4 separate regions of the Homo sapiens genome follow, and regions 2, 3 and 4 are each linked to region 1. The links are contacts of gene promoters, found by promoter capture Hi-C in blood cells and fetal thymus (Javierre and others, 2016). All regions are on one chromosome and are shown on one strand. Each heading gives the region's core, a stretch centred on a gene start or on the middle of the fragment in contact. The rest is flanking DNA. Distances are from core to core; before and after follow the strand shown. Region 1 holds the start of LONRF2 (LON peptidase N-terminal domain and ring finger 2). Region 2 overlaps AFF3 (ALF transcription elongation factor 3). Region 3 overlaps AFF3 (ALF transcription elongation factor 3). Region 4 overlaps AFF3 (ALF transcription elongation factor 3).

Region 1 (2,666 bases), core at 93-2,592:
TATTTCTATGTGTTATAAACCTCACAACACACTAACATTTTTGCTTTAAACACTTCTGGCTCTCAGCAGGCATACCTCCGGCAAGCTTCTTTCTGTTCTCTTGCTAGATATTTGTCTAAAATAAGAACAAATAGGATCTGAGATCATAAGGTTTCACAATCTTTACTGTATGGTCTGTGCTCTGAAGCTTTTTCCCCATTGCTTCCTGATTGTTGGTTGTGAATTTGATGGATAAATGACCCTCAAATATAAGTGAATTGTTATTCTATAAAGAAAGCAGATAAAAATCCAAACAGTGATTGAAAAAGTGAATTTGAAATAATTCAGTAATGAAAAAGAGACCCAAACAGTACACTGTTATCAATTAAGTTAGGTAGACAGCTGGGGGAAATCCTTCATGGAAAAGGAGGTGGGTACTCTGCATTTGTTTATTGTAGAACTAGAGGGCTGGCCAAAAATTGCCCCTTTTTCCCTTTTAGGAACTGGTCTAAAATGTTCTCTCACTTAATGAGGCATTTCTCCTTTCCCAAAGCCAGATGTGGTCGAGGTATTGTATATTTTCTTTAGCCAGCAGTTTTAGATGTAGAAAAACCTCTCCAATTTTTTAAAAAAATTTATTCTTGAAATATGAACAGTAGTATGAATTCTAGAATATTGTAATGCATTTTATTGTATTCAAATACACAGGATAAAACAGATACTGTGACGACAGGAAGAAGGGAGCAGGCTACATAGGAGAAATACATAGGCTATATAGGAGAAATTATGAACCCGGTTAATACGCACAGAGGATTTTAATTTAAACCTTGCTTGTACACCAACGGAGCGTTTAGCTCCCTCTCCCCAGCAACTTATGTCTGCAGTACTCCATACTAGGGCACCCTTTCTATTTCTATTCTAATTCTATTAATTAGAATTCTATTTCTAATTCTATTTCTGCTTCCTAATCAAGGGCACAATACAATTGTCCACTTCTCGAATCCCTCCTCCTCCTGGTATCTGGTTCTCTTGGCCCTCCACGTTCTCTGTTAAAATGAGTTCTCAAAGGCCTCAGCCTAGAGTTAAGAGAAGAAGCTCGCTGAGGCGGGGCCTCTGGGTGCCCACTTCAGCCTCCCCAGTCATTTAGGACAATTTCCTAAGTCGAAGCTAGAGATGCGTGATGCGTTTGGTGACTTTTCCTGGGTTCTTGCTTAAGCGGAGCCACAGGTTGTGGGGGCGGCCAGGCCTCTGGGGAAGAGCAGGTGCCGCGGTGCCGGCGCGCCAGCAGCCCGCGGCCAAGGCCACCTGCTCCCAGGGCCCCGGCACCTCTGCGGGGAGGCGGCAGGCAGAGGACGCGCGCGCAGTCGCGCAGGAGCCCTCAGGCGAGTGGGGGAAGCATCGCAAGAGACGCGGACCTGGAGCGCGGTCACTGCGTTACCGCAGCGACCTGGGTTACCTAAGCCGGCGGGACTGAGAGGCCGCTGCGCGTGGGCAGGGGCTCAGATTGCGCCCGCGGTGCCTGTCCCGGCCCCCACCCCGGAACGATTGCAGCCCTGCGGGGCTCGCCGCCCACACCGCGCTGAGGACGCTGCCCAAGCCAGGCGCCCGCCCCCGCCCGCGGTCTCAGCCGCTCGCAGCGCGCCGCCCCCAGACGCGCGTGGCTGCTGGCGAGGGCTGAGACCGCGCTCCCGCCGGCCAGTTCCCAGCAGCAGCGCATCCTCCCTGCTCCGCGCCTTCGCTCCGGACCCGCGTCGTCGCAGCCCCGCGGTGATGAGCCCCGAGCCGGTCCCGCCGCCGCCGCCGCCCCAGTGTCCTGGCTGCGACCGCGCGGAGCCGATCGCCCAGCGCTTAGAGGAGGGCGACGAGGCCTTCCGCGCGGGCGACTACGAGATGGCAGCCGAGCTCTTTCGCTCCATGCTAGCCGGGCTGGCGCAGCCGGACCGCGGCCTGTGCCTGAGGCTGGGGGACGCGCTGGCCCGCGCCGGCCGCCTCCCCGAAGCCCTGGGCGCGTTCCGCGGCGCCGCGCGGCTCGGGGCGCTGCGGCCGGAGGAGCTGGAAGAGCTGGCGGGCGGCCTGGTGCGCGCCGTGGGCCTGCGCGACCGGCCGCTGTCCGCGGAGAACCCGGGCGGCGAGCCCGAGGCGCCCGGCGAGGGAGGGCCGGCCCCGGAGCCCCGCGCGCCCCGCGACCTGCTCGGCTGCCCGCGCTGCCGGCGGCTGCTGCATAAGCCGGTGACGCTGCCCTGCGGGCTCACAGTCTGCAAGCGCTGCGTGGAGCCAGGGCCCGCGCGGCCGCAGGTGCGGCGCGTGAACGTGGTGCTGAGCGGCCTGCTGGAGAAGTGCTTCCCGGCCGAGTGCCGGCTGCGCAGGCTGGCAGGCCAGGCGCGGAGCCTGCAGCGCCAGCAGCAGCCGGAGGCCGCGCTGCTCAGGTGCGACCAGGCCCTGGAGCTGGGTGAGTCGGCTGCGGGGCGGGTCCGCCTCCCCTACACCTGTCCGGCCCAGCAGCGGGGTGGGGAGCTGGCCGGTGGGCCCGAGGCTTTGGGCTTTCGAGAGCTTTGTCTAGGCTTAGGGGTCACTTTGCTTCCTAAGGATGGGAAGGTGAAAGGTGGGGGCGGCCACACCCTGCAGCCAGGAGAGGCCAAGTGCACCCCACTGGTTTTGTCTTTTCCAGGATGCTGGTAAGTTTCCCG
Region 2 (2,666 bases), core at 73-2,572, 770 kb after region 1:
TTTCTGGGGCAGCAGCAACCAGAGCCTCTTCCTGTGTCCTGTGTGTCTGGTATGTTTACACCTTGCTCTGAGTTTTTCTCTTGTTTTCTTTTTTTAATTAAGTTTACATTTTAGTTTCTTTGACATCTTGTTTACAGTTTTTGTCTGATGTTTTTTCTTTTGTAGTGTCTTATGCCCTAGATTTAGTCATCTTGTTAAATATATTTGGATATGAAATCTTGACGAAAAGAAAATAACTCCTGAAAAAGAGGGTCTATCTTGCCACACGTTAAAAACAAAAATAATGTCCTTGTGGCCTCTTACTTGATAAAGTTGCACCAGGACGGTCTGAGAAAGGCAGGCGGTGTAATATGTGGTGCAATCCATTTTTTCAAGGTGATGACGGCACAAAATACTTAGACTAGATGCTGATCCATAAACATTCACTGATATTCTTACAGGTTGGTTTGCAGTGTTAACATTTTTGTTAGCCTGATCTGTAGGTGGGAAGTAAGATCATCATAATTCCTTAGCTCTGAGCACTGATTCAAAATTGTATAAATGACTGAACAACTTAGATGATTTGAAATTAATTGAAAATAAGAAGGGCTTGTGGAATTTGCATTTGGCTTTGGCCTTCAAGCATTTGGAAATATTAAGAGAATTTCCATTTTACATGTCTCCAACTGGGGTGCTTCTTACAACCCTTTCACTTTTTTTTTGAGACGAGTTTCGCTCTGTTGCCCAGGCTGGAGTGCAGTGGCACGATCTCGGCTCACTGCATCCTCTGCCTCCTGGGTTCAAGTGATTGTCCCGCCTCAGCCTCCCAAGTAGCTGGGATTACAGGTGTGCACTACCATGCCCAGCTAATTTTTGTGTTTTTAGTAGAGACTGGGTTTCACCATGTTGGCCAGGCTCGTCTCAAACTCCTGACCTCAGGTGATCTACCCGCCTCCACCTCCCAAAGTGTTGTGATTACAGGCGTGAGCCACCACACCCAGCCCTTTCACTAATTTTTGGCAGAGTTCACAATCCCATCCTATGTCAGAAACTTGAACCTAACTTAAGAAATTTTGAGTCATTTTTTTGGAGGACTGAGGCTTTGTTCTACCTACTCTTGAAGAATCCTGATGAAATATTCAAACACATAAAGGGATGGCCCTGGAGGTCTATCCTGCATACCTGGAGAGCTTCTCTGGTCCTGCCCACCTTGAAAGTTGCAGACTTTGTTGTAACATCTATGTGATGAGCTTCCCTGTGAAGCCCCATTTGACAGGTGGGCCAGCAGTGTTTTATCAGCACTCTGATGGCCCACATTTCCCAGGAAAACTTCTTGAAACTTACCGTTGTGGGCAGTGGTCAGAGCGTGTAGTTCTTATGACTGTCTTGTTTCATCTGTGGAGCACGTGTGGAGCACGTTGGTACAGCAGTTTCTGTGGGGTTTGGCATGGGTGATTTTGGTTAGTAACCATCCTCCAATTGTTGCTTGTGAAAGTCATTCATAACTTGTTCCTTTTACTTAGTTTTGTTGTTACTGCTGTTGTTGTTGGTTTGGTTGGTTTTGAGACCGGGTCTGGCTCTGTAGCCCAAGCTGGAATGCGGTGGCGCGATCATGGCTCCCTGCAGCCTCAAACTCCTGGGCTCAAGCAATCCTCCTGCCTCAGCCTCCCAAGCAGCTGGGAAGATAGGCACGTGCCACCACACCCGGCTAATTTTTTCTTTATTTTTTTTGTAGAGATGGGGGTCTCACTATGTTGCCCAGGCTGGTCTCAAACTCCTGGGCTCAAGCGATCCTTTGGCCTCGGCCTCCCAAAGTGCATGAGCCACCATGCCTGGCCTGTTTAGTTTTGTTTCAAGTTGAAATACCTTTCTTGTGTTTTCTAATTAGAAAAGTAATATCTACTCATTGTAAAAACTCAAACAGTGCAGAAATGTAGAAAGTAGAAAGTGTAAGTCCCTGGTTGTCCCTTCTGCCTGAGACAACCACTGCTCACAGTTTGATGTATATCCTTCCAGAGACTCTCAAATTTAAGCAAATAATTTTTATTACCATGTCTTTTTATTTGAAGACGTACATTTGCCTCCAAAGTTCAACACAAGTTCAACTGACCATATCCTTCCATGACCTGAATAGATGCTATCCTTTATCACGATGTTCAATTGCCTTTGAAAGAGAGTAGTCCAGGTATATTCCTGATCAAAATTTGGCATTTTTGATGATACTACTCTACACAGATCAGACTCATGTGCAGAATCGTGCCTGGAGAGAGAGGTTTGGTTAAGACAGAGATTTCTGGAAACATTCAAATTGCAAATGGAAACTTGAAACCCACAATCTAATGAGGAATGTACTGGAAAAATAATCTGAAGAGTTGACAAATTGTGTACTAGATTGAACACATGGAATGCAATGCAATGAGACTTTCTGCACTAAAACTTATCCTCATATGTACAACAATGATGTGTGTATTATATAACAGTGATGTGTACATTTCTGACACCCCATACATAATATACACAGTTTGTATAAATGCATACATTTAAAAATATATATGTACAATACAGCTAACATAAAACTGTAGTACGCCTGAAGGATATTACTAGTGCCTAATATTGAGTATGAGTCACTGCGTGTTCGCATCAACTTGGAAGTGCAGTAATTGTTATAAAATTAATCAGTGCAGCCA
Region 3 (2,666 bases), core at 92-2,591, 760 kb after region 1:
GAGAAAGAGATTTTCTGCCTGAATCCAGCATCTAAAGTTTACAGCATTATTCATTCATTGTCCTCTTGCCCAACCCTATCTTTCCTGTTGACGATTTCCCAAGAGGAGACACTCTGCTCCAGCCAGGCTGGTCCCCTACTGACCTCTAAGCACACCTTGCTCCTGCCAGCCAGCGGGCCTTTGCACCTGCAGAGATTCACTCTCACACACTCTCATGGGCACACTCACACCCTCAGCATCCTCCCCAAATCTAGCCAAACCCTACCATTCCTTCCCGGCGTCATATTCAGTCTCCTCCCTGTGGCCTTCCCAGCCTCTCTGCGGCCCCATCACTAGCTCACTTTCCTCCATCTCATTTGCACTGGATGCCTCATTTTGTATTTTGTTGGGTAATCACAGACTGCCTTGCACTTTGAACTGTCTTGTAGGTGTACATTTTCTCTCTCCAAGTCTATTATATGTTCCTGGAAAGAGCTTTCGCTTGTGGAGTGCACATACCACAGAATTGGGTGCTTTAGGAAATATTAATACTAAATGAAATGACTTCATCTGAAAGTGTTATCAAGAAATGTTGCATTATAGGCCAGGCACGGTGGCTCACACCTGTAATCCCAGCACTTTGGGAGGCTAAGGCAGGTGGATCATTTGAGGTCAGGAGTTCGAGACCAGCCTGGCCAACATGGTGAAACCCTGTTTCTACTAAAAATACAAAAAAAAAAAAAAAAATGAGCCAGGTGTGGTGGTGCACACCTGTAATCCCAGCTACTTGGGAGGCTGAGACAGAAGACTCGCTTGAACCCGGGAGGCAGAGATTGCAATGAGCCAAGATCATGCCACTGCACTCCAGCCTGGGTGACAGAGTGAGACCCTGTCTCCAAAAAAAAAAAAAAGAAAAAAGAAATGTTGCATTATAGCCTACACTACCTTTATAAGCAGTTTAAAATTTTGATTTGCTAAGGAGAGGAAGTTTTGCTCTGCATTTCTGGTTTTGAAGCTATCATTACTAATGAAGTTTTTTTTGTATTTTTAGTGGCAAGACTTGGAATAGTATTTGAGTATTATGTCATTCTGTTTTAATTGATGAATGAATCATTTGAAAACTGGGGAGATTCTGCAATCCAGAGTTAGAATATGTAATTACCTACAAAGAGTAGTAAGGTATGGAACCAGGAACTTGATGCATAAGTTTAGACTGATGAGATCTTAAGAATATAAAGCTGATTTGTGGCTGCCCTTGCTGATGTGGGGAAAGAATAACACAAATTTCGACAGCTACAGATAATCCCGTAGAAATGTGTTTTGTTTTGCCTTTAGAGACAGCGTCTTGCTGTGTTATCCAGGTTGGAGCACAGTGGGGCGATCATAGCTCACTGGAACCTCAAACTTCCAGGCTCGAGTGATCCTCCTGCCTCACCTTCCCAAAACACTGGGATTACAGGCATGAGCCGCCAGGCCCAACCAAAAATCATTTTTATTAATAATTTTCAACTTTTTGTCCTATTTTAGCAAAGCTGAAATAGCTCCTTGAGGTTTATCTCCTCTCCTTTCCCCTACTCACTCTCACTCTTAAGTGAGGTTCTAAATATTAACAACAACAAAAAAAAAAAACAATTGAGGCCAGGTGTGGTGGCCTATGCCTGCCTGTAATTCCAGCTACGTGGGAGGCTGAGGCAGGAGAATCGCTTGAACATAGGAGGCAGAGGTTGCAGGGAGACTCCATCTCAAAAATAAAAAAATTAAAAAAAATTGAGAAGAGGAAGGCATGGAGATATAAGTGCCACAAATAATGTAAAAGATAATAACCAAGGCCTAGAACCATCCAAGTTGGGGATGTACCAAAAGAAGTATGAAAACTCTTATATGGGACCAGACCTACCAACTTTGATGCATATTTAGCATAGCATGGAGGAACAAGGAATGAAGTCGCCAAACCATTAGGGGTTAGAAAGAGGGAAACAGAAATCAGAGCAGCCATGCAGTTCTGAGCTCTGTTGATTGACAGCTGTCACATGGGTTTGATACAATTCTGTATATAACTGTTCGCTCACTTACTCCAAGCCAGTAGCAGTTTGAGAAAATAAGTAGGAAAAGAAGTATTCTATTTCTTTCTTCTCTCAGCTTCATAGGATTTTAGAAGTCAGAGTTGGGTTTCTCAAATAAGGTGTATAAACTACATGACAATGCCATTTAAAAAAAACTATTGTTTAGGAAGACACTGTATTAACTCTGTTGATCAGGTGGAAAAGTTTGGAAAGGCTTTGAACTATGCTGAAGCAGCATTGTCGTTTATCGAGTGTGGAAATGCAATGGAACAAGGCCCCATGGAATCCAAATCTCCTTATACGATGTATTCAGAAACAGTAGAGCTCATCAGGTAAGCACCGTGTTTTCTTGCTGGATGAGGGGAGGAGTGAGGAATGTGTGGAAGCACTATGGTTACAGAGAAAAGAATGTCAGCCTGCACCATCCCCCACCAGGAACCAGTGTTCATCCCCCCAAAATAAGAGGGTAAGGTCGTGCAAGGCGTCTTGGCACACCCTGCCCCCTCTGTCCTCCGTGAGCAAGGGGGGCAGCTGCTGTAGCCCCCAATTGCTGAGGGAGGAGGCTGAGTCTGAGTGGGCTGTGACATGCCTGCTCCTCTCAGCTAGGAAGTGGCAGATTTTGAG
Region 4 (2,666 bases), core at 101-2,600, 730 kb after region 1:
GTGTAGGAATCAATCAATCAGTTAATCATCTGGGAATGAGTGTGGCTATTACCTCTGGGATGGATGGCTAACTGAATACGCTGATGGAAATATACACATGAAATATGCAGAGATAGACATTGGTAATATATAGACAGATTGGAAATACATAAAGCCATCCAGGCATGCAGAGTTTACTAGAGAGATGTGCAGAAAGACTTACATAAAATTCCGTAATATTCTGTGTTTAAATAGTTGTATTACTTATGGCCATTTTTATTTTAACTTAAGAAGCTTCATTTACAGTAAGCCTGACACCTGGCTGTACTCATAAAATCTAAAGAATCATTAAACACAGACACAAGAGAAGTGAAAGAACATTCTTATAGTGCTCTTTACTTGGTATTCTGGGCATTAGTACCCCAGTACTGGGTGCTGGAGATGGGACCCCATAGACCTGGCTGTCAAATTTGTGGAGTCTCGCCCTGCTGGAGCCCTGGAGCTAAGGACTAAGAACTCGGAGCTTTGGTTTGGGCCCTCCATGGGGGTACTATTACAGTGTGGGCATCTGGGAGCCCCTGTGGCAGAGGCTGTGTGGCAAAATCCCAGCCAGAGCGAGAAAGTCAGAGTCTTTCTCTCTTTGGTGTTGGCACTTGTCTCCTGGAAAACAATGCAGACAGCCCTGAGGATACCATACTAGGTTCCTGTTATCTCATGGAAAATGGTACTTTCTGAATATATTTGTGTTGCACCTTAACACATATCTAAAGTTAAACACAGGCTGGCCTGATAGCTGACACCTGTAATCCCAGCACTTTGGGAGGCCAAGGTGGGAGGATCGCTTGAGCCCAGGAGTTTGAGATCAGCCTGAGCAACATGGCAAAGCCCCGTCTCTACAAAAAATACAAAAAATTAGCCAGGCATGGTGGCACACACTTGCATTCCCAGCTACTTGGAAGGCTGAGGCGGGAGGATCACCTGAGCCTGGGAGGTCGAGGCTGCAGTGAGCCATGATCGCACCACTGCACTCCAGCCTGGGTGACAGAGCAAGACTGTCTCTAAATAAACAAATAAAATTAAACCCAATCATGGCAACAAGGATCCAATCAAAGTACTGTTTTAGAAAAAGGTACTTTATGGATTCTAAGATGTCATGGGATAGTAATTGAAAACTAGAATTAAGGCACCAAGAGATAATAGCTTCTGCTTGCAGTTCACAAAAGGCAATAATTTTTTTTTTTTTTTTTGAGACGGAGTCTCACTCTGTCACCAGGCTGGAGTGCAGTGGCGTGATCTCAGCTCACTTAAATCTCTGCCTCCCAGGTTCAAGCGATTCTCCTGCCTCAGCCTCCCAAGTAGCTGGGACTACAGGCGTGCACCACCACACCTGGCTAATTTTTTGTATTTTAGTAGAGATGGGGTTTCACCATGTTGGCCAGGATGGTGTTGATCTCCTGACCTCGTGATTCGCCTGCCTCGGCCTCCCAAAGTGCTGGGATTACAGGCATGAGCCACCGCACCTGGCCAAAGCAAGAATTTTTAAAACAGAAAAGTCCAGGCTTGCCACTGCCCTTATGGCATGAATCCCAGAGAACACACACTTGCTGTACTTTATTCTGATACCAAGAAATGCCAAGGTGAGTGCCGCTGGAGCTGCAGTGGGAACTCAGACCAGTTGGAGGGCTAAATCCTAAGCCGGTTGATGGCAGAGCAGCTTTCAGAATTCAAAATGTTGAATCATGGCGTCGTGCCTCTCCTCTCCATCAGCTGTCAATTGTAAAACTGACAGATTTCATCCTTGCTTGTTGAGGAGCTAATGGGGAAGCTATGGCAGGGGCACAGCTGCTCAGGCTGTGCTTCGGGGAAGCCAGGTGAGTGGGGCTCCCAGGAGGCCTTGCTCTGTGGAAGTCGGTGCCTGGGAACTCATAATACCTCTTGAAATCCAGTGCTGATTGACTTTAGTTTATTCCCATACAGTGTGACAACGAAGACGACTACAGGGAGATCAAGAAGTCCCAGGGAGAGAAAGACAGCTCTTCAAGACTGGCCACCTCCACCAGTAATACTTTGTCTGCAAACCACTGCAACATGAACATCAACAGGTACGTGCATTCCCTCCAAAGTGGAAGTGAGCTGGAGAGATCTCTGGGTCTGAAAGTCACCTGCTATGTTGGAGGAGGGTCAGGCTTTTTGAGGACTACTCTGGTCAAGGTCTGCAGACTTGCTTCCCTCCTTTAACCCAAATCTTATTATTATGGCTACACATGTGCCACACATTATAGCTCCAGATACTCACGCAAGGTTCTTCTCCATAACCAAAGACCAGATACTAGTTACACACAGCTCTGCACTCCCCAAGACATGCCCTTCCCCCAAAAAAACTTAATAACTGAATTTCTAATCAATATTTTAATGGTAACCGCTAAACTCCTAAGAACACTAAGCTTATTACACAGACGAAGAAATACACACTTCAAGCTGAATCTCCATGTGTAGCACCTAAAGCAATTAATTGGATATAGACTAAAATTGTGGCCTTAGAAGGGTCCGTGCTCCCAAGGTTAAATGGCCACCCACACACTCCTCTCAAGAGGTTCCAGATGGACGCATCCAGCACTGACTCCCCTCTGTGATGAATGGCTTACAAGCAAAGCAAGATCCCAGGTATTTATTAGAAACAAGTAGCT

Evidence for each region. Contacts are between HindIII fragments. The CHiCAGO score rates a contact against its expected background, and 5 or more counts as called.
Region 2: a fragment that was not itself captured here is called in contact with the fragment with the promoter of LONRF2 in region 1 in 4 of 17 cell types (megakaryocytes, total CD4 T cells, M0 macrophages and 1 more); the score reaches 7.8 in megakaryocytes.
Region 3: a fragment that was not itself captured here is called in contact with the fragment with the promoter of LONRF2 in region 1 in 7 of 17 cell types (M2 macrophages, M0 macrophages, M1 macrophages and 4 more); the score reaches 8.7 in M2 macrophages.
Region 4: a fragment that was not itself captured here is called in contact with the fragment with the promoter of LONRF2 in region 1 in 10 of 17 cell types (M1 macrophages, fetal thymus, naive CD8 T cells and 7 more); the score reaches 8.7 in M1 macrophages.

What each region holds. Positions count from the first base shown.
Region 1 is chr2:100,321,177-100,323,842 of GRCh38, reverse strand. LONRF2 (LON peptidase N-terminal domain and ring finger 2) reads left to right here and starts at 1,342. Exons shown (of 12, transcript NM_198461.4): 1 at 1,342-2,428. The coding sequence starts at 1,750. The HindIII fragment of the contact is 11,643 bases long and covers 190-2,666 here.
Region 2 is chr2:99,547,619-99,550,284 of GRCh38, reverse strand. It overlaps AFF3 (ALF transcription elongation factor 3), which reads left to right. Exons shown (of 25, transcript NM_001386135.1): 25 at 1-2,666. Among named protein-coding and RNA genes, the nearest start is that of REV1, 59 kb to the right of the region's middle. The HindIII fragment of the contact is 4,123 bases long and covers 1-2,666 here.
Region 3 is chr2:99,565,195-99,567,860 of GRCh38, reverse strand. AFF3 (ALF transcription elongation factor 3) reads left to right here. Exons shown (of 25, transcript NM_001386135.1): 20 at 2,238-2,374. Among named protein-coding and RNA genes, the nearest start is that of REV1, 77 kb to the right of the region's middle. The HindIII fragment of the contact is 3,586 bases long and covers 1-2,666 here.
Region 4 is chr2:99,586,569-99,589,234 of GRCh38, reverse strand. AFF3 (ALF transcription elongation factor 3) reads left to right here. Exons shown (of 25, transcript NM_001386135.1): 16 at 1,957-2,081. Among named protein-coding and RNA genes, the nearest start is that of REV1, 98 kb to the right of the region's middle. The HindIII fragment of the contact is 2,150 bases long and covers 276-2,425 here.